Regions from separate parts of the Homo sapiens genome. Here all the other regions are linked to region 5. Evidence: promoter capture Hi-C in 16 types of primary human blood cells and fetal thymus (Javierre and others, 2016). All regions are on one chromosome and are shown on one strand. Each heading gives the region's core, a stretch centred on a gene start or on the middle of the fragment in contact. The rest is flanking DNA. Distances are from core to core; before and after follow the strand shown. Region 1 has its middle 73 kb from the start of C14orf180. Region 2 has its middle 170 kb from the start of LINC02691. Region 3 has its middle 130 kb from the start of C14orf180. Region 4 has its middle 100 kb from the start of C14orf180. Region 5 holds the start of KIF26A (kinesin family member 26A). Region 6 overlaps PPP1R13B (protein phosphatase 1 regulatory subunit 13B).

Region 1 (4,077 bases), core at 965-3,464, 370 kb before region 5:
TGTGTGTATATATACACATATATATACACACACATATATTTTTTTCCCTAATTTTATGAAATACCTTTTTGTTTTTTGACAATGTCTTGATGACCTGAAATTTTAAATGTTGATTAATTTCTGCTTGTTGTTTTTTCTTTATTGGCCAGAGCCTTTTGTGTCCTCTCTAAAGAGTCTTTGTTTACCTCAATGTTGCAGATTTTCTCCTGTGTGTTCTAGGTATTTCCTGGTCCATATTTTAGATTTAGATCTGTGGTTTATCTTAAATTAATTTTCATGTATGGTGTGAGGAAGGGGTTGGGGTTTATTTCCCCCATAAATGTATCCAGTTGCTCCAACATCATTTGTCAAAGAGACTTTCTTTCTTTATTGAATTTCCTTGCAGCCTTTGCTAAAAATCGATGGGAAATGTATTTATGGGTCTAGTTCTTGTCTCTACATTTTCTTCCATTATCTAAGTGTCTATTTCTTCGCCAGTATCTCACTGCCCTGATTACTGGGCTTTGCAGCATCCTGAAATCAGATCGTATTAGTCCAACGGTGCTCTTTATCCAGGATCATGTTTCTTTTCCAGGTCTTTGCACTTGCAAATGCATTTTAGAATCAATCAATCAATTTCCGTCAAAAAGCTCATTGGAATTATTATGAAGATCACATTCGGTCTACTGATCATTTTGGGGTGGCTGAACAACATCCTAGCCATAGAGAGTCTGCCCATCCATGAACTTGGTATACTTCTCCATTCATTCAGCTCTTCTTTAATTTCTCTCAGCAATACTGTTGCAGTTTAGGGGATAGATCTGGACCTGGTGCTGTCAGAGTTAGGGAATGATATGGGCAGAGCATTTGACTGTAATCTGGGAAGCAAGGACTGGTGCCCACCTGCAGGCCTGTGGGGACTCTGGGCAGCAAGGCAGCCTCTCAGCTTCTGCCCAGGCAGCAGCCACAGCTCACTGTGATGCCAGGTATGCACACTTCCAGGGGGCCCATTGTCCTTCCACCCACCTTCTAGTCCACACTCAGGAACGTTCTAAGCCATCCCTGTCGGGTGGGGCAGGAGAGGGGAGAATCCAGACCTCACAGGAGCCCCAAACCCTGATATCTCCAAAGTGCCCTTTTGCCAGCCCTGGTCTCTGCTTTTGTGTCCTGGGTTTGGCTACATGTTGACAAAGATGCTCACTCGGAAAGTTGAGCAAGACCAGCTCTCATCTGTTGTTATGGTTACGAGGCAGGAAAAACAATTTCCTGTGAGTATCTTCTGATCACTCCTGTCGGATGCTGGAGCAGATTAGGCCAGGCACCATGGTGATGGCTTCTCTGGTTCTGTGGGGGACCATGTGACATTCATTTTGACCTCACACATGGGGTTGCAGTCTGCCGGCTCAGTCAGGGGAGATAGACGGATCTCATTAAGAACCATCAGAGGATCACTTTGCTGGTTTTATTGCAGTTGCAAAATTGCCTTTACCTCACTCTCTCCCAAATGCCAGATTACAAACATCACAAGAGATCAAGAAGCCTGGGTGGGCCCAGGAACGCACTGAGTGCACGCCAGTGGGCAGTGACCAATCACCAAACCCAAGGGAGTCCACATGGCGAGCTGTCTCCTTGCTACATGGGGCCTGCCTACTCACAGCTGGGAGCCCCTCCAGCACCAGGAGGCCCAGGTCTCCCCGAAAAGAGAACACACTCTCTGCAGGGGCAACTTCCACCTCCCCACCGACCCAGGCCCCCCAGTTGCAGAGCTGCAGAATGGCAGAATTGGGCCCCCCAGTTACAGAGCTCCCCAGAGCTGCAGAACGGCAGAGGGAGGCAGCAGGGAGACAGACCCATAAGTCTGGTCTTGGAGAAAGGGGTGGCTGCAGCCAGGTGGAGCAGCAGGCTGGGCCATTTCCTGGTCACAGAATCTTCTATCCCAGCCCCATGGCAACCTGGGGGCAATCTCCCCCTCCGCTCTCTCCTGAGGGAGAATCTCCCCCTCTGCTTGTTCTCCAGGCAGGGCCTGGGCTGCCCACGGTGGAGGAGAGGTTCACCCTCAGCCAGCCAAGTCTCTGCCCTTCTCTTCCAGATCCAAGCGCCCAGTGTGGCTTGCAGTCCTTACCTGTCTTCTCCTCTTGCTTTGGATGAAGCTTCAGGGTCCTGCCAGTGAGGAAATGGCCAAACACTGAGAAGGTGACCCCGGCCAGCTGACACCCCACGGTGGCTGCTCTGCGATGGGCAGCTGCTCCAAACCTGGGCCTGGGGCAGGGGGCAGGAGGAAGGGGGTCTGCAATGTGGTGGTTGCCTTGCTGGAAGCTTCTAGGACAAGAGGTCTCCTTAATGGCAGACAAGTGGGGAGAGTGTCTGGAGGTGCCTGGCGCCAAGATGTGGGGTGAGGTCGCCAGGGAGGGGTGCAGGGGAGGGGCTGCACACTGCTCCTTGGGTGGGACAGAGCAGGGACAGGGAACGAGGAGGCTGAACTTGGGGGCCAGGGAGGCCAGAGGAGGCTGGGTGGGGTAAGGGTGCAGGCAGGTAGGGAGTGTGTGTCTGAGAGGAGGGCGGCGTTGCTGGGGGAGCCAACATGCCAGGAGGAGCAGGGAGGCAGGAGAGGAGGAGGGGTGGTAGTAGGTGGGAGACCCCAGTGGGTTTCTATTTAGGAACTCATTTCCTGCTTTGTGATGTCCTCAGGTTTTAAGTTGCCTGACCCTGCAGGTGGAAAGGCTGACAGTGGCAGGTGGGGGTCCCCAAGCTGCCCCCAGAACCAAAGGTCAGGCAAAGGCTGCAGGTGGACCTCAGCTCTGAGGCTCACCTCCCTCTTGGCCCCTCAGGGTGACACCTTCTAGGAGGTCCCAGCGGGGCAGTCATCCCAAATCCAGGCCTGTTGCTTCCTGCCTCCTTCCCCAGCCTCACTCAGGGGCCAGCCAGCCAAGGTCACCTTGGCTATGATAGGTCAGTGTGGTCCCAGGTGGGGCCCTGACACCTTGTCTGAAAGACATGGAGGAGGAGGGGCCCCAGCCCCAGAGACTCAGCTCTCTGCACCCACAGACTCTCCCCAGCCCCCCAGCCCAGCAGGTCAAGGACCCCAGGCGGGGGCTCTCGGCAGCCCCTGCAGTGAGTCTCCCTCCCACTGTCAGTGTGCAGAGGGTCCCACGTGCTCCGGGACCGCGATTACATTTTCACAAAGAAATTGGAGAAACTACAGCAAACACAGCTCAGCTGTGGCGCTGAAGGGATTCCCTTCCTCTTTCTTCTTTTTGTCCTCTGCGAGTTCAGTTACTCCTGCCCTGGTCATGTGCAGCCCCGAGTCTGGCACTGGAGACGGGTTTGCTGTTTTGAGGGCGGAGGACGTGGCCCAGAAATGGTAGTAGAAGGGGAGCTCTTGATGTGGACAGCTCCCCTGCTGGGTGTCCAGCCTGCCCAGTTGCCCTGCCCGGAGGGAGGAACAGAGAGGAAGATGCCAAGGCTGGCTGGAGCAGGCGCCAGGTGTGCCTGCAGCAGCTCTGGGGGTGGGGAGCAACCATGCGGGGGGTGCAGGTGCCGCAGTCACCTTCCAGGTGGCCCAGTGGCTACCCGTCTTCACTATCCCGGGACGTGCCAGGCCTCCTGGCACTTTCCCCGGTGGTGAAGCAGAACTTCTGAGGCAGCCCTCTGCTATGGCTGCCCCTATTGTGGCCGTCAAGCTCAGCCTGGCTGCAGGCGGGGGCCGGCGTCTCCCGGGTCCTATCTCCTGGGTTGTGTTGTGAATCCGCAGACTGAGGGGCTGTGTGGTGTGGGTGGCGTGTGGTTTGCTGAGGAGCCTTGCTTTGGAGGTCTGGCCTTATTAGAAAACGTTACTTTATTATCTCACATTTCCAGAGGCCAGGAATTCAGAACAAGTCTCATGGCTTTAAAATCTAGATGTCAGCAAGGCTGGTTCCCTCTGGAGGCTCAAAGGGAGAATCTCGTCCCTGTCTCTCCAGGCTTCGGGGGCTCCAGGTGGCCCTGGTGTGGCTGCACCCCTCCATCTCTGCCTCTGTCTGCGCGGTCTCCTCCTCTGCGTTGCCAAATCTGCCCCTGCTTCCTCTTAAAAGGATTCCCGTGATTGCATGCAGGGTCCAC
Region 2 (4,126 bases), core at 623-3,122, 260 kb before region 5:
ATGATGGGAGAGGAAGCAAGAGAGATAGGAGGAGGTGCCATGCTCTTTTTAACACCAGCTCTTGTGTGAATTAAGAGTGAGAACTCACTCACTACCATGGGGACAGCCCCAAGCCATTCATGAGGGATCCACCCCCATAACCCAAACATCTCCCACCAGGCCCCACCTCCAACATTGGGGATCACATTTCAGGTGAGATTTTATTCAAACCATATCAGAAGGCGCCCCGGCATCAGGATTTGCCATGACAGTGAAAATTGAAGCTACCACGCCCTAAGACCCAGGTTCCAGAACTCACAAGACACCCCTTCTGCCTCATTGGATTGGCCAAAGAAGCCATGAGGCCAGCCTAGAGTCAGGTGGAGGGAAGTGGACTTCCTGGGTGAGTGGCTGCACCCACAGGGAGAGGAGGAGCTGTCCGGATTTATTTGTCACAGGCCACCAAAGCTCTGCCGCCTGTCTCCACTGACACACTCCACACTACTTAACGCTCCACGGCCTAAGTCTCTCAGTTGTTTTGACCTAGTCCTTCACAGCCTGTTCATTTGCCTTTTGGTGGACTAAAATTCATTCTCTATTTATTTATTTAAAAGGAACTTCAGTAGACAAGAGTTCCTCCATTTGTGAATATTTTCAGAAGCGCTTTTTTATGATTCAGCATGAGTAACAGCTTTATTCTGTTCTAAAATTTTACTCTGATATAAAATTCTTGGTTCATACTTTCTTTTCCTGGAGATTTTGCAGGCATTATTTCCCTCTTCTCTAAGATGAGGTGTTGCCGTAGAAAATCTGAAGCCAGCTTGGACTTCTCTTCTCATGTCAGGGCCTTCATATTTTTGCCTCGGTGCCAAACAAATTCTTCGTGTTTGACCCCCAAGTCTCAGTGCTGATCAAGTGCACCAATTTTTGTAGAAACATGATATACCCTCTTAATCCATAGATTTCATCTTTTTTAGTTTCACCACATTTTCTTGAATTATTTGAATTATTTTTCTTTTATATTTGATTTTCTCCTGCAAGGCCACCAATTATGTGTGTGTTGTGTCGGCATTTTGTGTTTTCCTTTTCTATCCTTTCCTCTAAACCATCGCAACTCTTTATTCTTTTCTGGTGAATTTTTTTCACTTTTTCCAAGCTTGACTCCACATCCCTGGCAATGGTTTTAGGAGAATCTATTCTCTTTTTCTTTGATTCTAGTGTGGCCTTCATTTTGTGATTTTTAAAATTCTGCTTCTTTTCTTGAGCTCTGCCTGCCTATTTTTGAAATCTCCTATCATCTTTTTGTTTCTTATTGAAGTCTGTCTTGGCTTTTGTTTTACGTGAAAGACATTTTCATTTAGATCGTTAAGTTTCTGATTGTTAAGAAGGTTTCCATCATCTTCCCCAATGCGAGGATTTTTTGTGTCTTTGCTTTTTACCTTTTCTATTATTTTCTTCCTTTTTCTTGTAATGTTTTCAGTGGACACTATTTTCATTCCTTTCTGTCATTGTTTATTTGTGCATATAAAGTGAGTTCTTCCCGAAACAACTGTCTGCAGTGTGTGGGAGGGCAGTCCTGGGGCGGGGAGCTTCCCTGGCTGGCTGTGCAGCCCCGCAGCCTGGCCTCCGCCTCGCCCTGGAGCAGCGAGGTCACTCGGCAAGGCCTTCACACTCTCAGGGGCTCAGAGTTGTGGGTGCCTCCTGTTTTCCATGAGGATAGAATTCCCATCTCTGTTTCTCATCCTCGGTGACAAAAAGAGAGACAACTTTACTAGAGGTTCACTTTAACAAGTAGCGGACACTTTTTGCTTGGTCGTTTTGTGTGCATGTGTGTTTGTTTCATTTTGTTTGCTACAACAAAAGCAACAACTAAAGAAATAAATACCCTTAATTTCATCACTCTGGAGATCTTTCACAACATTGACGACTCAGACGTCGTCGGTCTTCTCTCCCGGCCTCAGCTGCGGTCAGACTCCAGGTGAGCTGCACCTGGCCGTCTCATTTACGCGGCCTCTCTGGCATTGGATAAGAACTCTATGGCCAACTTACCCAAGAGGTGGTCTGCAATATCTTTGAATACATTAAGACCTGGTGGTCTTATAGAGAAATCTGTAATGATTCATTCACTCGTTGCTACAGACCAAATGTTTCCTATGTGGAAGCTCTGACCCCAATGCGATGGTATTTGCAAGTGAGGCCCCTGGGAGCTGATGAGGCTTAGAGGAGGTCATGAGGGCCCGTGACAGAACATCCTCTCTCTGCTATGAGAGGACACAGCAAGAAGGAGGCTGTCCGGGGACCAGGAAGCAGCCCTCTCTGGAGCCAACCCTGCTGCCACCTTCACCTTGGACTCCCAGCCTCCAGAAATGTGAGGAATGAATGTCCACTGTTAAGCTGCCCCATCTGTGTTGTTTTGTTGTAGTGGCCTGGATGGACTAAGACATTCATTCAATCATTAATTTATTCAAAGATATTGCAGACCACCTTGTGGGTAAGTTGGCCATAGAGTTCCTATCCGATGCCAGAGAAGCAGTGTAATTGAGACGGCCAGGTGCAGCTCACCTGGAGCCTGACCGCAGCTGAGGCAGGGAGAGAAGACAGGCAATGAGCGGGCCAGCGAAGGAAGCTTTCTGTTTCTTTAATGCAGATGAACCAGCGAGGAGAGAAAGGGCCAGGGCAAGGCACTGCTGAGCCGGGCGGGCTGCTGCTCCGTGCTCACTGGGGAATGTTGTTCAGGTGAGTCAGGGCCTCACGCCATGGAGGACATTTACGCAATCCCACCTGACAATGGCTCCCGAAGGAAGAGACAGGTGCACAGCGAGTACTGCAATTCAGAAATTCACGGAGCAGCAATTCTGAAAAGCAGCGGGGAGAGCAGGGGTCAGAGCAGGGCCAAGGACAGCAGCCGGGACACAGGTTTTTTTGGGATCTCTGGACTGGCAGCACGCCAGGCCACAGAACCCCTGTGTGGACAGTCTGTGCCACCCCCGGCCTCCTCATTTCTGAAGATGAGCTCTCCCCGGCACCCGGGACGCCCACACCCAGGGTCACTGCCAAACAGCACCACCGTCTGAATCTCAGGACCTTGCCCTGGATGCCGGCTCACTCCCTCACACACGTCCTGTGGACTTCACTCTAAAACGCTCCCAGAAGCTGGCCGCTGTGTCCACCTCCACCACGGACCCCAGATGCAGCCCTCCTCCTGTCGCTGGGCAGACCTGCGGCCAGGGTGTCCTCGCTGGACGTGCACTGCCCGTCCTGTTTCAGCTGCTGTCCCCTCAGCAGCCAAAGGGGCCCTGGCAGTGAGATCAAGGTACTTCCCGCCCCTTCCTCCCAAAACTCCCCACTCAGATCTACAGCAAAACCCAAGTTCTTCAGTGCCTCGGAAGACCCTTGGTCCTACCAGGTCACCACCTATCCCAAGATAGATTCCAGATGACCTGGTGGGTGGACTAACGCATTTTCAAGGGCAAGGTTGATTACACTTGGTTTTTGTTTTGTTTTCTTTAGAGACAAGGTCTCGCTTTGTCACGCAGGCTGGAGTACAGTGGTGTGATCACAGCTCACCAGAGGGAGCAGCCTCACACTCCCAGGCTCAAGTGATTCTTTTACCTCAGCTTCCCAAAGTGCTGGGATTACAGGTGTGAGCCACCGTGGCAGACCGCTTGTAGTTTTTGTTTATTCTGTTTTAAGAGCTGCTGTAGAACCACACCTACCCCAGCCCCTCCTCTGTTTGCTGTGACACCTCAATCCTTGCACCTGAAATCTGCGATGTGGGACATCTCGTGATGTGGCTGGTCACAAGACACCCTTCCTCTTAGTGGGTTTCCAGGGAGCTGGCCTGGGCAGGGCAGCGGGGAGGAAGGCACACTGGAAGAGGCATCTCAGGGCAGGCCAGTGTCCCTGATCACCTCCGTGGGGTTTCAGGGTCTTTTCAGTCTCCTCAGTCTCCTAAACAACCACTCAGATTTCTTTTCCTATAACCTCTATAGACCCCATTCCCACCCCTACCCTCTCCCTGACCCTGGCCTGAAATGCTGAGACATTTTTTGCTTGATAATCACAGACTCCAAGTTCCTAACATAATTCCCGAACCAACAATTCCATAAAGTTATTTACCAGCCTATTTCCAGTTGGTTTTCAAATG
Region 3 (3,785 bases), core at 260-2,759, 310 kb before region 5:
TTTATTCTATGAGGACTTTTCATTTTTATCCGTGGTTTTCTGAGGGTTTTTAATCATGACTCAATGTTGGGTTTTATTAAGTGCTTTTTCTATTGAGATGATCATGCGCATTTTTCTTTTTAGTCCGCTAATAAGATAAAGTTCATTTATTGATTTTTGAATGTTAAATCAACTTTGTCTTCCTGAGGTAAACTACACTTTGTCATGATTTAGATAAACTAGATTTGCTAAAATTTTGGTAAGAATATTTTCATCATTGTTCATGAGGGATATTGGTCTCTGTTGTCGTTTCTTATATCTGTTTGATTTAGTAGGAAAGTAACATTCTCTTCATCGAATAAAAAAAGTACCTCTTCATTTTCTATTGTCTGGAAGGATTTGTGTAGAATTGTTATTTTTTCCTCAAATATTGTTAGACTTCACCATGAAAACCACCTGGGCCTATAGTTTGCTTTGTCATTGGGATTTTAATTAAAAACTTGATTTAGTTAATAGATATTCATGTTATCTATTTCTTCTTGAGTGAACTTTGATAATTTATGGCTTCTAAGGAATTAGCTTATTTCATCTAAGTTATCAAATTTATTAGAAAAAAGTGGCTCACAATAGTCCATTGTTTCCTTATAATGACTGCAGAATATTTGGTGACACCCACCCTTTCATTCCTGATATTGGTAATTTGTGCCTTTTTACCTTTTTCTTTATCAACTGACTAGAAGTTTAACAATTTAATTGATTGTTTAAAATGATTAGCTTTTACTTTCTTGGATTTTTCTTATAATTTTTACTTTTCTCTTTCATTGATTTCCGTTCTTTTTATTATTTTCTTTTTCAGCTTACATTGTGTCTAATCTGCTCTTCTCTTTTCAGTTTCTTAAGTGAAAATGTAAGTCACTGATTTGAGACCTTTCTTTTTTGTTATAACATAGGTTCTTAGTGCTTAAATTTGCCTCCAAGCATACATTAGCTGCATCTCCCTGATTTTGGTATGTTGTGTTTTCATTTTCAGCTCAAATAACTTTCCAATTTCTCTTTTGATTTCTTATTTGAGAGATATGGTTTGGCTCTGTGTCCCCACCCAAATCTCGCCTTGAATTGCAGTTTCCATAGTCTCCAGGTGTCAAGGGTGGGACCAGGTGGAGGTAATTTAATTATGGGGGTGGTTCCCCCCATGGTGTTCTTTTGATAATAAGTGAGTCTCATGCAATCTGACGTTTTTTTGGTGTGTTTTATTTTTTCAACAATTAATGTCCGCCCTTTAATCTCCCCAAGAGGGCTGGGCCCAGGCAGAACCCATCCCAGCACCCCCACCTACACTCAGAGACCAGCCCTGGGGGCCCAGGATCACCCAGCCGTTGGAGGGCCACACACAGGGTCCATTCCTTTCTTGCAGTCCCCCAGCTAGACCCTCTCCCCCAGTCCGGCGCTGTGGGCCCCGGAGCCTAGGTTCCTTCTGCCCTGGAGGTTGGGGAAGTCCTGGATCAGCAAGGGTGGGCTCGAGCATCTTCTCCACTGTGTGCGTGTGTTGGGGGCATATGTAGATGTGTAATGAATGTGCGTGTGTACACGTAGATAAGGGTGAATTCTGCATGCGCTGGCTTCCTGAGATCTGCACAGGAAGTGGCTCTGTGACCCCCGCCTGGCCCGAAGGTATTATTTTTTCTGGGCCAGGAAGGCCCCACCGAGAATCAGGGCTATGGCTGCCACAGCCACATCTCCAGCCACCAGCAGGGGGTTCAAGTTCTCGCAGGAACAGGGACCTCGACCCCTAGGCCCCCGCTGGCAGCCTCGTCCTCCTCTGCCCCGTCCCCAGGACCCTTGGGCTCCGGGGTTGCATCAGGACTGCTGGGCACCATGGGGGCTGTGGGGGCTGGCTTCAGGTTGCCGTGGTTGTTGAGAAGGACGGGGTTTGCCTTGGCCGGGGTCTTCTTGGCAGGCGCCATGGTGGGGGCTGCCAGTGGCTGCTGCTTCTCTGCCGGGGCTTCCTTCTTCCAGGGCTCGGTCAAGGGGGATTTCCCATCGGCTGCCGGGGGTACCTTGGCCTCGGTGGTGGCCTGGGTCACCTTGGTGTCGGGCTTGGGGCTGCTGGCCGATTTCCCTCTGGACTCCGTGGTGGGCAGGGTGTATGGGACAGGCAGGTGGCTGCAGCAGAGGGGCTCAGGACAGCTCGTCACCCCTGGGCATTCTATGGACACGTCCTCCGGCCTCGCCTGGGTTGCGTGCTCCTCTGCAGGACGGCGGCGGCTGCAGACGCAGAGTAGAGCTCGGAAGTTTCCGCAATCTGATGGTTTTACAAGGATCTGGCATTTCTCCTGCTGACACTCATTCTCTCTCCTGCCGCCCTGTGAAGAGGTGTCTTCCACCGTGACTGTAAGTTTCCTGAGGCCTCCCCAACCGTACAAAACTGTGAGTCAATTAAACCTCTTCTCTTTATAAATTACCCAGTCACGGGTATTTCTTCATAGCAGCGTGAGAAAGGACTAACACATCAAGTCATGGGTTATTTAGAGGTGTGTGCTGTTCAGTTGCCAAATATTTTGAATTTCTAGATATCTTTCTGTTGTTGATTTCTAATTTAATTCCATTTTGGCTGAGAATTTGATATGAATCTAGTCCATTTGTTGAGACTTGTTTTATGGCCTAGAATATGGTCAATCTTGGTAAATGTTCTGTGTGTCCTTGAAAAGATTGTGTATTCTGCTGTTATTGGGTGGAGGACTCTATAAATGTCTGTTAGGTCAAGGTGATTGATGGTGTTGTTCAAGCCTCCTTTTTTTTTGCCCATTTTCTATCTACATTTTTCTAATAATTACTGAGAATAGGGAGTTGACACCTCTAATTCTCAATTTATTTATTTCTACTTGCAGGGTGATCAGTTTTTGCTCCATGTATTTTGAATATATGTTATTATGTGGATACAATTTAGGATTATTATGCCCTCTTGATACATTGACCCTCTGTTATGAAATTACCTATCACTGATATTATTTGCCAGGAAATTTACTTATATTGTGATTAATATAGTCATTCCAGCTTTCTTTTGATCAGTATTAGCATGGTGCATTTTTTCCTAGCCTTTTACACTTAATCTGTTTATAGTTTTACAGTTAAAGTGGGTTTCTGGTAGTTAGCATATAGTTGCTTTTGCCTTTTTGTCCCAATAAGACAATCTTTGCCTTTCAAGTATAGTATTTAGTTTTAATGTGATTATCGATGTGATGGGTTTAAATCTTCCACTTTGTTGTTTTCTACTTGCTTTTTTTCCCTCATCTGCTTTTTTTTCTTTCCTCTTTTTCCAACTTCTTTTGGATTAACTGAGTATTTATTATGATTTAGTTTTATCTTCTTTGTGGGCTCATTGGCTATACATCATTTTTGTGTGTGGGTGCTTTAGGTTTTATAGGATACATCTTTAGCTTATGTTCTACCTATAAGTAATATTACACCACTTCATGTGTAGCATAAAATTCCTATAACAGTAATAATCTAGTTCCCTTGTCCCAGGGTCTGTGTTCTTGAATTATACATTTTCTTTCTATACATGTGATAAGCCCCACAATGTTGTTATCACATTTCCTTTAGTCAATTATTTATGTGTTAAAGAACTTGACTATATTTTATGTGCATTCATGATTAAACCCACAAGTTTACCGCTCCTAGTGCTCTTCATTCATTTGAACAAATCTAGATTTCCATTTGCTATTATTTTTCTTCTGCATAAAGGACTTTATTTAACATTTCTTATAAGTCAGGTCTGACAGCAATGAATTCTCTTACCTCTCTTA
Region 4 (3,699 bases), core at 240-2,739, 340 kb before region 5:
AGAGCCTGCCCAGCTTGTTGCTGGCAGTGGGAGTGGCCGATGCAGCACTGGCTGCGGGGGGCTTGGCAGGTCTGGAAAGAGAAAGGTGCCCACTTGGCTGGGGGTTGAGAGGAGGCTCCGGTCCGCTCCAGCCAAGGTGTGGACCTGGAGCTCTCGCCAGAGCTAGAAAAGGTGATCTCCATGGGTATTGGAGCAAGGACGTCAGGGCCACCCAGACATGTGGGGGAGCCATGGGTAGAGAGTGAGCTTCCTGGGGAGTGGGAAGCCCAGCCAGGAAAGGCAGCCTCAAGCTTTGGGAAACATCAGAATGGCAACCTTATGCCATGGAGTGGCCTCTGAGCCACAGAGAAAGCGGAGGAGAGTAGAGATACAGGCATTTAGGGAGAAGAGGGATCTTTTTGTTTCTGCCTCCAAAGAAAAGAAAAAGAAAAATGAAAGAAGAACAACAAGAAATAGAGCAGAAAAGAATTCAAGCATGGATGGGTTTGGGTGGGGCTGGGAAATGGAGGGCTCCAAGCAGTAGAGCAGAGGGTCCAGCACAGGGAGGTGAGGTAGGAGGGGCTGGAAAGAAAGCCCAGATGGGCCCAGCCTGAATCACTATGGCAGGGGTCCTCAGGGGTTACCCAGGAAACTACCACAAATCTCGAGTCGCCATCAGTAGTGGTGACGGGGGAGTGGGTGGAAAAGCCGGAGAAGCCACCAGCTGGTGAAAAGGCCCTGGGTCCCCCCGCCACCTTCCAAATTTCACCTTACTCCTCCTGTTGCCAACCTCACTGGAGCCATCTAGGGGACAGGGCCTGGGGGTCCTTCCTGGCTTCTCCCCCTCAATGCAGGAAAGAACTTGAAATTGGGGAAATGTGGAGTGGACATTGGACCGCCCATCCAGCCCGAAAGACACAGGAGAATGAAGACAGTCCCTGAAGCAGAGAATGCCACCTGCCTGGGGGTCAGCAGGGCACGCTTTGCTCCGGAAACACCTTCTTGACCAACACCATGCCCTGAGAGATGCCAGAATGGGGTCCTGTAAGTCTCCCGAACATGCTGATGGTGTGGTGCTGATTAAAACAATGTTCTCATGTGCAGGAGAAGCAGGCCGAAGGGTGCTGGGTGAAGGGCATGGACCTGGTAACATTCTCATAGACCATGTTTATTTCCTGTAAAAATAAGACCAGATCCCACTGGTGACAAGGGCTGTGACCAGGACTGAGTTCTTTAAGGTTGCAGGACTGAGGTCTCTGTGTTCTTGCTGCTGTCAGCTTAGGGCCGTTCCCACTTCTAGAGGCTGTTGTGTTATTTGGTGAGTGACCTCGCAGCTCCACGTCTCGGCCAGTGCTGGAAGGCTGAGTCCTCTTGCTCTCCAGGGGGCCCTCCCTCTGCTCCTGGCAGGTGTCTGCTCACCCCTTAGAGCAGTGTTTGATGTCAGGCCCTTGAAGTCTTTGGTGTTCTCGGTGCCCTTGGGACCCTGAACAGACAGAGTGACCCTGTGGTGGAAAATCCTTGCTGCCCCACGTCAGGTGTGTTCCTCAGACTGCAGGCCCGCATGCACCCTGCCCGTGTGCAGTGCCTCCTCATTCCTGTCTGCTGGAGACGGCTTCTGGGGGCCTCTTCTGTGGCTCAGGTGCTTGCTGAAGGTGGACAGCGCTTCGAATTTAAACTGCACAACTCAAGTGCTGTTCCTGGGAGCATCTCAGGGTTTGGTCCAGGTGCCTCGTGACCTCTGCAGGCTCTGTTACTGCTTTTCCAGAAACACTCTCTTTGAGCTGCGTCTGTGCATATTAAAGGAAATCCATCAGCATCATTTTCTTTAATTTTCAGTTCCTATTAGCAGTATTGACCAGAGGGTTCCCCAGGGCAGGGGGCAGGTGGGGTGAGGGCAGCTCCCCTGGCTCAGCCCGTCCATCTCTCCTGCCTGACTGGTGTTTAGATTAGAGTTCAATTCCATTTTAGTCCACTTCCAATTCAATTCCATTCAGTTCAAATCCGAATTCCATTCCATTCCAATCCATTTTCATTCAGTCTAACTCAATTTCATTTCAGTCCAGTTCAAGTCCACATTTAGTTTCTATTTTGCTTAATACAGGTTCACAGACCTTCCACTGTGCCCCAGCCTCACGCTGGGCACCGAGGGAGGTGGGAGCTGGCAGCAGCCTGGGCAGAGGGACCCACTGCGGAGATGTGGGGGAACAGGCCTCACCCAGAAATGGCCACCGGATGAAGCAGGAGCGTGTGGGGGCCACAGAACAAGAAGTCCATCCCTGTTCCTTAATTGAGCCACCCACGTTAGCGTGACCCATGCTCAGGCTGGTGCTCTTGCCTGGACCCATCATGGTGGTTTTCCCAAGCACACCCATGGCTGCTGTCCTGTGGGTCAAAGGCATGGCTGGGCCAGTGGGAAACATGGATTAAACACATTGAGCATTTCACTGCAGTCCTTCCTAGAGTCTCCTGGGCACTGGTGGGCATTGACAACTTCTAAAAAGGGACAAGTGTAGTTTCAGGGCCTCAGAGGGCAGAACCTGGCTGGAAGCCAGCTGGGCCGGTGGGCAGAGCAGAGCTGCTGTCTCCCAGTGTGGAAGGAGAGTGAGTGTGTCAGGATTGCCTGGCTCTGGGGCACTTCCTGGGTTGGAGTTTCAGCTTTCAGGAGCCCCAAATGAGCCCCTCATTTCAAGGCCGCCAGGGGCAAGCTTTCTGCCTCTCAGGACAAAACTGACAAGGAATTGGCCACGTCCTGCCTGTTCAACCATGTGTGAGTGACGAGGGCTTGTGCAGACACACATCTGCTCCCTGGACTGCCATGATGGAGGCAGAGGAGCATCTGCATCTGCAGGAGCTCTGCCAGTGGCCCCCAGCACCCCTCGAGCTGGGGGGAAATGGAGTCCGGCTCCACGGCTGCTATCCTGGGATGCAGTGGCCAGGCCTGCTGGGATCCTATGAAGAGGCAAGCGGAGAAGCCAGATCCCCCTGTGTTCTGTCCCCGTGGGGGCTAACGGCCACACTGCCCCAAAGTTGCATCTGGGACTCTTCGGAATAGGAGTGGTTTGCATGAGAAATTTGAGGATGCAAACTCAATTCATCATTATTTATGAACCAGCACAGAGGAGTTTATTACTCTGATCACTCACTAATCATTCCTTATAAATGCGGGGACCAACAAAATCCCACAGAATCAATAAAGTGGTAACTTCCCGGTCTAAATCACGGCACCTAGGATTCTTGAGTAAACCTTTCGGTAATTTACAAAGGCTGTTGAATTTTATAGTAAGAGTTTTTCAAACCAAGCTGGATTCTAAACAATAATGACTTTTTAATGTGGTTCTGTGATTACGTTGTCACCGTGAAATACGGGGGTCTTTGACTGCATCCAAAATGAGCCTGGTGTGAATTACTTGCAGGCACAGACCAGCACGGCCCCAGGTAAAGCAATCTTCATAAATTACTCTCCAATCCGGGTGGCCTGGCAGGCGAGGCCTGATGCCGATGTTTGCAACTCAATTTTCAATGGACAATTTGTAAACAAGCTCTTCCTTTTGTTCGGGGCAGTGGCCACGGCCGCCGCCTCTGAGTGGAGGGGCTGAGCTCCCCCCAGGCTTTCACACGCCGGCTGAGACTTTGTGTGAGTCCAGGACAGTGGCTGCTCGTCCACGGAGCTGCTTAAAGGGAAGTGAATGAAAGGAACTGACGCTGGGTGCCAGCCACGCG
Region 5 (4,227 bases), core at 826-3,325:
TATCACCTGCAGCCCTCTCCACTAGGACCCCTGGCCTGCCCGTGACCAGGAGCCCCCTCCCCTCCACGAGTCCATGCCAGGACCATGGCCCCAGGGCCAGGCAGCATCAGCAGTCCAAGCCCACTCCAAGAATGAGGAGACCAGCTCAATCTTAATGCCCCTCCTGTCTCTGGCGTGTTTCCCCTAATGGGGCAGCAAGATGGGCCTTTAGCTCTGGCTGGCCCTCTCCAGGGGGCCCTCAAGGGTCTCCTGCTACCTTTTAAACTAGATACAGGCCACTGGGGCACAGAGTATGGCCAAGGCTGCAGCCTGTCCAGAGCAGAGGACAGGGCGGGTCCAGCCCCACCCCAGGACAGGCCCACAGGCGCCTGGCCTGAGCCAGAGAGAGGCTACAGCAATCCTATCCCTCGCCGAGACTCCAGAGAGCCCGGAGACGGTGCCCAGGACAGAAACCAGACTGGTACCCTGCCCCACCCTGCCCTGCCCCAGACAGGGCAGTCAGGGTCTCAGCTCACTCCAACCCCCACAGCCCTTAGAGAACTATATTTAGATTCAATGGGGATTATGCGGACTTCCCAGGAACTCTTTCATAAAGGCTGAAGGCCCGGCAGCGGGCTTCCTCTGGAGACCCCCACCCGCCCCCAGCCTTTGCAAACTTCCAGCATGCATTGTTCCTGGAACAATGGTCCCTGCTCCCTCCAAAGCCGGCAGGCCCACTGGCTGGAAATCCAGGAGAACCCCTCCCCTGCAAGCACCTGCCCCTGGGGCTGGAGCCTGGGGAACCCAGAGGGCCCCGACTCAATTCCCCATGGGCGGCCACTGCCTCAGTCTATCCCAGGAGGTATGGGACAACAGTTCTTATCCTTGAGGCTGGGAGAGGAGTAGGCAGGGACCCCCCAGCTGCTGTGGCCCACCCTTTCACCTGCCAGGCCCCCCGGCCCCAGGTATGTAATTTCCAGACACCTGGCTGGGGGCCCAGGTGCCCCAAGGGCCACAATGCACCAAATAACCTCTCCCTGCTGGTAGGGCTGGAGCTGTCCCGCCCTGGGTGGAGTCCCTGCCATCCGCTCTCTCCCCTCCTCCTCCCACACAAACCTGCGTTCCAGCTGTGGGACATCTGGGCTGGGGGAGGAACGCCAGCCCAGGCCCCTCCCATCCGAGGCAGCAGGGCCCCTCGGGCTGAGCTCCCTAGCTCACACATGGTGTTACAGACCGGGAAACTGAGGCCCGCAGAAGGGAAGTCCTGGCTGATAACTCTTTGTGGAAACAGCAGCAGGGAAGGAGTGGAACCCTGCTTCCCTCCAAGCCCCAAGTTCTACCCAAGTTCGGCGTGGCCCTGCTCGGAGGGGTCGGCCTAAGGAAGTGTCACTTACCCGGAGGGTGGTCCCGGGCCCGCTGACCAGCTTCCACGCCTGTCGCTTGAGCTCCACCAGCTTCGTGTGGCAGTGGCGGCACCAGCCGCCTCCGCCGGCCGAGTGGCCCTGCTCTGGGCCGGCCCCGGCGCCTTCGGGAGCAGGGCGGCTGCCGCATGGGTCCTGGTCGGGCCCGGCGGGTAGCCTCTTTCGGGGGGACACCTCCAGCAGCGGCGGCGGCTCGCGGGCCGGGCCGCCCTCGGCCACCTGCAGGGTGTGGGGGCGGAAGCGGACAGTGAGCCTGGGACGTCCGTCGGATCCAGACCCCTGCGCGCCCTGCCCCAGCGTGACGCTCTTGCCAAAGTTAGGAGCCCTGGGCACGACCCTGGCGCTCACCCACTCCCTCCATCCCCGGAGGTCCCGCCTGCGGGTCCGCTACCCTCAGCAGGAGGCCCGGCCCCCAGGGATCCAGCGCACACCGCGAGTATCTTCGCCGTCCCGGGCCCCCGCCGCCCGCCTCCCTCTCCAGGCCGGGCCGCGCGTACCGCGGGCTGCGCAGCGCACAGAGGGACGCCGCGGCCGACCATGGCCGGGGCGCGGGAAGAGCCCGGCAGGCGCTCCCGGCCACGCTGGCTCTCCGGGGGCGCCGCGGCTACGTGATCCGGCCCCGAGGCGCCCCCATGGCCCGGCCCAGCCGCTCGGAAGTTCGCAGAGCCTGCGAGTGTCGCGAGGAGCGCGGTGGCTCCGGTGGGCGCGCTCGGGAGGCGAGGGCGGGGCCGGGGAAGGGCGGGGCTCGGGCTCCCGGGGCGGGCGGCGAGGGGCGGGAGCCCAGAGAGTGCCCCGCCCTTGCCCAGTGCTGGGCGGCGCGTGGGGGGGGTAGGGTCCCCGCTTCCCCACGCGGCCCCGCGCACTCCAAGGACCCCAACCTGTTAGGTGAGTCCCTGCCCCGGGGAGGGGCGCTGGGGGCGGCGGCGAGGATCTAGTTGCGCGCGCGCATGCGCCTCCCGCCCCTCTCCCGGGACACCAGGGCTGCGCGTCTCCCAGGAGGCGCCGACGCCCCTCCCTCTACAGGCGGGAAAACTGAGGCTGCGGAGGGGACGCTCTTGCCCAAGGCCCACGGCGAGGTGGGCCGAGGAAGGGGCGGGACCCCGGCCCCGAGACTCCCAGGCGCCTTTCCAGCAAGCCCAGCGTACTCTGCGTGTCGCGGGCCACTTTAGGTCTAACTGTCGCGCGTGGGTTAGTGTCGCCGCGGTGTGCGCCTCGAGCCGGGCAGCGACCGCGCCGGCGTATCTGTGCCTCGGCGCGTCTGCGAACGGCACGTGTCTTTACAGCCGCGCGTGTGCCCGCAAGTGGGTGTGCGCGCCGTGCCGCCCGGGAAGCGGGAGGTCCTGCGGGCGTGCGCCGGACCTGTTGTCAGCAGGCCTGGCAGATGGGAACTCAGCTCCGGAATTAATTGCTTGTTTGTCTCCGGCTGGGAGGCCGCCCCCCCGCCCTTCCCTGGCGACCAGTTGCTCTGTGCCTAGCCGGGCCCCAAATGTCGCCGGCATCCGCGGCCGCAGGCAGCTCCGGGCCAGGCTCCGGGTCAGCCCCAAAGCCCGGGTCAAGCCAGGCGGGCGCGGCGGGCGGGCTCCCCGTGACGCGAGTGCCCCCTGCCGGCCGCTGCGCACACGGCTCCGAGACTGGGGAGACAGCGCCGCGCGTCCCAGGCCTGAGGCGCACTCGGAAACTCCGAAGGTCGTGACCCGGCGGAGACCAGGACACGCGGCTGCCGGCACATACGGTGAGGCCTTCGCAGAGACTCAGTACGTCAAAGTGACCCTTTCCGTTTTGCCCACCCCCTTTTACTTGGATAAGCCTCCCCGCCCACGCACGCACTCCCCAGAAAGTGGGGTGGGTGATCCCCTCCCGGCTTTCCGGGTCGTTGATGACCTTAGGGGTTCGAAAACGCAAGGGGGTATGGAATAAAGTGGCAGGGGCTCTCCACTCTTTCTGAGATCCGTAAGCCTGCAGTCGCTTTCCACCCAGCCTGGGGGGCCGGAAGCGCTTCCCCTACCCGTCTCTTCGCAGCCTGGAGAATGAAAACGGGCGTCAGCCCACATCTGGATCTGGGTACTGAGGACAACACCCAAACCCCACCCCGCACTGCCGGCAGACAGCACCGCCTCCCGCCGCTCCACTGCTCCGGGACACACACTCTCTATATCCCGTCCCCCCACCCACACACGCAACACAGAAGCACGCAGCGGTCGGGAGCACCGGTCCTGCGCCCCTGGCCAGCCACACCCGCAACTTCAGCGCTTCTACCGCCGCGGCGCTTCGGGAAGCACAAGCTCACATCCCATATCCGCAGAACACGGGGTGCACAAGGCTGGAGTCACCTCGGGGGCTCACGATCAGTCAGGGGCCCCGACCCCCTACTTCGCCCATCCTAGCAAGGCGCAAGGTGAGCCCGAGAATCCCTGCGCTGCGCTCTCCGCCCTAGCCACAGCCTCCGGGTGGGTCCGGTTGGGACACAGCCTTGAAGGCAGAGGGAGACTTGGACAACGCTAATGGGGGAAAGTGCGGCAGCGAGTCCCAGCCCGGGCTGCGGGACGCGGCTCCGGACCTGCCGTCTCCTTCCCGGCGCAGCACCCCCGGCCGCGCGAGCCGCGCGGCAAAGTAACGGGACGGCGCCTACGCCGCCCGCCCCCCTCCCGACAGCCCTCACCTTGCCTCGTCGCCGCAGGAGGTGGCTGGTGAAGCCCAGGATGATCTCCGAGTCCAGGCAGAGCGCCCCCATCTCCAGCAGGCTGGGAGCCTTGCGGGGCGCGCCGCGGGGCGGCTCGGGCGGCTGGGGCAGCGCCATGGAAGAGGGAAGCGCGGGGAGCGGCCCCTA
Region 6 (4,104 bases), core at 770-3,269, 330 kb after region 5:
GGCAGGAGTTGGCTTGCCCTGTTGAGGGAGGCAGAAGGGATGAAGAGTGTGGTAAGCACTGAGATCAGAGAGGTATGCATGTGTGTGTTGCAGGTCTTGCAGGGCCTCTTAGACAATAGTTAGGACTTTGAAATTTATTCTCAGAGAGGAAACCACGGGAAGGTTTTGAATGAAGTGATGTATCTGAAGGGTGAGAGTGGAAACAGATGAATGAGTTTGCTCTTGCAGACATCCTTTCTGAGAGGTGGTGGTGGCTCGGGCTTGGGTAGTAGCCAGGGAGACGAGTTATCAGTTTCTGGGTACGAGGTTGACAGTCTTGCTAATGGATTGTTTGTGGAGTATGAGAGAGAAGGGAGTTGAGCCAATCCTTTATTTTATTCTCCTTTTTCTGTGTGGATGACAGCAACTCCCAGGTGTGTTTTTCAGTCTTTGAGAGGCTAATTGAGGAAAGTGAGATGAAGCATTTAGGGTGATGGCTTAGACTTAGTTTTCCTTACAGCTCTAATGTTTCTGAGATTTTAAATTGGTGAACTGAGTTGCAATCAGGGCCAGAAGGGACCTTAGCATCAATTCTCATTTTGGGGTGCGTGGCCTGCTGGAAAGCTAAAGGGGTCTTCCTGGTGTTCACCCACCCTCACCCCAACTGATCCTTTCTGTGGCTTTTATGAGCTATTTACTCATAACCTACCAAGTGAGTTATTGCAAGTTACTAAAATTTAGTATAGCTTTTATCACCTTATTTCTCTTCAGTTATTTTTTGTTATCCCTGAGCTCCTTTTCCACCAGAAAGAAGTAGTAGATGGTATAGGTGAGCTGGGGGATCTAATACTTTACCTGATTGGGTTGGGCCAGAAAAGCCTGAGAGCCATTTTCCTGCAAATATGTGTTTCATATTATCTGCTGAGTTCTTGCCAAGAAACCAAGACCCAGAGATAGACTAAGGAGCAGCTTCCCCAGCCAGTTGCAGCAGTCAATGCCATAGCTAAGGATAGAACTTGGGCTTCCTATTCCAGGGTTCTTTGTACCATGTAAGTCAAGTTTCTGAATTCCTTTTCTAGAAGTTTTATATATCCTACTTTTTAAAAACAGCTTCATTGTGTTATAATTTATGTGCCGTAAAGTTTACCTATTTTAAGTGAACATTCAGTGATCTTTAGTAAATTTACATAGTTGTACAGCCATCACCACAATCTAATTTTAGAACATTACTGTCATACCAAAACAAAGTTTGTGCCTATTTGCCATCACTCCTCATTCCCATCCCCAGTCCTAGGCAACCACACATCTTTCTTTCTCTATGGATTTGACTGTTTTGGGCATTTCATATAAATGGAATCATATAACATGTGGTCTTTTGTGTCTGGCCTCTTTCACTTAGCTTAGTATTTTCAAAGTTCATCCATGTTGTAGCATGTGTCAATACTTTGTTACTTTTATTGCTGAATAATATTCCATTGTATGATATTCCATAATTATCTGTTAATGGAGATTTTGGTTTTGTCTTGTCTTTCCTTTTCTCTCTCCTTCCTTCCTTCCTTCCTTCTTTCCTTCCTTTTTTTTGAGACAGCATCTCGCTCTGTCACTCAAGCTGGAGTGCAGTGGCATGATCACAGTTCACTGCAGCTTTGACCTCCTGAGCTCAAGCAATCCTCACACCTAGGCTTCCTGAGTAGCTGGGACTATAGACGTGTGCCACCATGCCCAGCTACTTTTTGAATTTTTTGTAGAGGCGGGGTTTTGTTATGTTTCCCAGGCTGGTCTTGAACTCTTGAGCTCAAGTAATCTGCCACCGTTGGCCTCCCAAAGTTCTAGGATTACAGGCATGAGCCACCGTTCCTGGCCTTGTTTCTTCTTTTTGGCTACTATGAACAGTGCAGCTATGAACATTTGCATACAAGACTTTGCGTGGACATATATTTTTATTTCCCCAGGGTAGGTACCTAGGAGTGGAATTGCTGGGGGCCATATGGCAAATCTGTGTTTAAAATTTTTTAGGCCGGGCATAGTGGCTCACGCCTGTAATCCCAGCACTTTGAGAGGCCGAGGTGGGCAGATCACGTGAGCTCAGGAGTTCGAGACCAGCCTGGCCAATATGGTGAAACCCCATCTCTACTGAAAATAAAAAAATTAGCCAGGCGTGATAGCGTGCGCCTATAATCCCAGCTACTTGGGAGGCTGAAGCAGGAGAATCACTTGAACCTGGGAGGCGGAGGTTGCAGTGAGCTGAGATTGAGCCACTGCACTCCAGCTGGACTGTTATGCAAAATAGCTGTACCATTTTACATCTTCATCACCAATATATGAAGGTTTCAGTTTCTCCACATCCTTGTCAATGCTTGTGATTGTCTGTCTCTTTGATTATAGGATAATTCCTGTTTAGATTTTTTTTTTTCCTTAGAGATGGGATCTCACTCTATCACCCAGGCTGTAGTATAGTGGTGTGATCATAGCTCACTGCAGCACTGAACTCCTGGGCTTATGTGATCCTCTACCTCAGTGTCCCGAGTAGGTGGGACTACAGACACATACCATGATGCCCAGCTAGTTGTTTATTCATTTATTTAGTTTTTAGTAGAGATGGGGTCTCACCATGTTGCCCACGTTGGTCTCAAATTCCTGGGCCTAAGCGATCCTCCTGCCTCTGCCTCCCTCAGTGTTGAGATTACAGGCTTGAGTCACCATGCCCAGCTAATTCCTGTTTTTTAATAGCTTATACATCCTCAATTTGTGTTTTGCTTTGGTTTCCTTGGATTGCCAAGAAAATAGTTTAAATACCAAGTTTGTAAAAATGTTAAAATATCTGTGTGGTTTACTTAAATTAGTGATTATTTGATTTCAGTTGATTTTCTTAGTTCAGATGTTCCTGAAAGCAAGGGTAAGATGACGTCTTAAGCTACTTAATAATGGTTGTCAGTTTTCTGCCTGCCTCATCCTGCATTTCTTGAGCACCACTGTGTGTCCAGGCACTGAGCTGGAGAACACAAGTATTGTCCTTATGGTCTAGTATGATATTTTCCAACTTTTTTGAATGAAAAAAAAAATGGAGCAAGTTAAGACACACTTAGATGATTTCAAGACCAGGTAATGAGTCACAGATACTGTTCCAGTAGAGGATGTAGTCAAGAAAACTATTGATAATTTAATGTAAGAAAGTTGTACTATAAATAGCCACAGTCTGTTACAGCAGGGGAGAAGAGGAGGCTTTATCTGAGGTTGGGTCAAGATGGGCAGACATTGGTTCCAGTCTTTCTCAGGTCAGGTCAGGATGGGTAGAGAGTACTGTCAGTGAGCAGAAAGGGGCAGGATTTGTTGTGTGATTCATCAGGGCAGAGAAGCAGTTTGAGGAAAGGCATAAGTAGGGCATCTTGTCATTACATGCTATATTTGTTACAGCACACAATTAGAAATTTTTGTTTTCCTAACTGTAGCTAACCAAATCTTTTATTTATTTGTTTATTAATTAATTATTTATTTATTTATTTATTTTTGAGACGGAGTCTCGCTCTGTTGCCCAGGCTGGAGTGCAGTGGTGCTATCTCGGCTCCCTGCAAGCTCCACCTCCCGGGTTCACAGCATTCTCCTGCCTCAGCCTCCCGAGTAGCTGGGACTACAGGTGCCCACCACCATGTCCGGCTAATTTTTTGTATTTTTAATAGAGATGGGGTTTCACTGTGTTAGCCAGGATGGTCTTGATCTCCTGTCCTAGTGATCCGCCTGCCTTGGCCTCCCAAAGTGCTGGGATTACAGGTGTGAGCCACCGCACCCGGCCCCAAATCTTTTATTTTTAACATATTAATCATTTAGGAAGGATAAACGTATTAACTTGTTTTCTTTTTTCATTTAGTTTCCTTAATCCTACTGAATTTCATCTGTTTTGTACATACTATTAAAGAAAAAAATATGCTACCCATTAAATTGTGTCATGCCATCGTGAGGTGTACTATGATTTCAAAGATGTTATTAAAATACAAGCAAGTGCATCTAGAATCAATACACTATATTTGTTTTGGAGCTTCTTTAGTCATGTTTAAGCTGAAGAAATCTTACTAGAATAACATTAGCAGTCACACGGCTTTTCAGCTTCAGTTTTCGGTGATGCTTTAG

The links. Contacts are between HindIII fragments. The CHiCAGO score rates a contact against its expected background, and 5 or more counts as called.
Region 1: a contact is called between a fragment that was not itself captured here and the fragment with the promoter of KIF26A in region 5, in 8 of 17 cell types (non-activated CD4 T cells, total CD8 T cells, naive CD4 T cells and 5 more). The highest score is 10.0, in non-activated CD4 T cells.
Region 2: a contact is called between a fragment that was not itself captured here and the fragment with the promoter of KIF26A in region 5, in 5 of 17 cell types (naive CD4 T cells, non-activated CD4 T cells, endothelial precursors and 2 more). The highest score is 8.5, in naive CD4 T cells.
Region 3: a fragment that was not itself captured here is called in contact with the fragment with the promoter of KIF26A in region 5 in 2 of 17 cell types (naive CD8 T cells and non-activated CD4 T cells); the score reaches 5.6 in naive CD8 T cells.
Region 4: a fragment that was not itself captured here is called in contact with the fragment with the promoter of KIF26A in region 5 in 1 of 17 cell types (naive CD4 T cells); the score reaches 6.0 in naive CD4 T cells.
Region 6: a fragment that was not itself captured here is called in contact with the fragment with the promoter of KIF26A in region 5 in 1 of 17 cell types (megakaryocytes); the score reaches 5.6 in megakaryocytes.

What each region holds. Positions count from the first base shown.
Region 1 is chr14:104,504,800-104,508,876 of GRCh38, reverse strand. No RefSeq gene overlaps it. Among named protein-coding and RNA genes, the nearest start is that of C14orf180, 73 kb to the left of the region's middle. The HindIII fragment of the contact is 166 bases long and covers 2,132-2,297 here.
Region 2 is chr14:104,395,104-104,399,229 of GRCh38, reverse strand. No RefSeq gene overlaps it. Among named protein-coding and RNA genes, the nearest start is that of LINC02691, 170 kb to the right of the region's middle. The HindIII fragment of the contact is 1,470 bases long and covers 1,138-2,607 here.
Region 3 is chr14:104,449,302-104,453,086 of GRCh38, reverse strand. It overlaps the pseudogene CEND1P1. Among named protein-coding and RNA genes, the nearest start is that of C14orf180, 130 kb to the left of the region's middle. The HindIII fragment of the contact is 8,232 bases long and covers 1-3,785 here.
Region 4 is chr14:104,477,871-104,481,569 of GRCh38, reverse strand. No RefSeq gene overlaps it. Among named protein-coding and RNA genes, the nearest start is that of C14orf180, 100 kb to the left of the region's middle. The HindIII fragment of the contact is 2,394 bases long and covers 293-2,686 here.
Region 5 is chr14:104,136,435-104,140,661 of GRCh38, reverse strand. It overlaps KIF26A (kinesin family member 26A), which reads right to left and starts at 2,075. Exons shown (of 15, transcript NM_015656.2): 1 at 1,898-2,075; 2 at 1,374-1,619. The coding sequence starts at 1,939. It overlaps KIF26A-DT (KIF26A divergent transcript), which reads left to right and starts at 2,033. Exons shown (of 3, transcript NR_158217.1): 1 at 2,033-3,132; 2 at 3,420-3,795. RefSeq lists a silencer at 2,907-3,076 and enhancers at 2,773-3,484, 3,485-4,196. The HindIII fragment of the contact is 14,398 bases long and covers 1-4,227 here.
Region 6 is chr14:103,803,027-103,807,130 of GRCh38, reverse strand. All of the region lies in intron 1 of PPP1R13B (protein phosphatase 1 regulatory subunit 13B), which reads left to right. Among named protein-coding and RNA genes, the nearest start is that of PPP1R13B, 42 kb to the left of the region's middle. RefSeq lists an enhancer at 139-238. The HindIII fragment of the contact is 4,253 bases long and covers 1-4,104 here.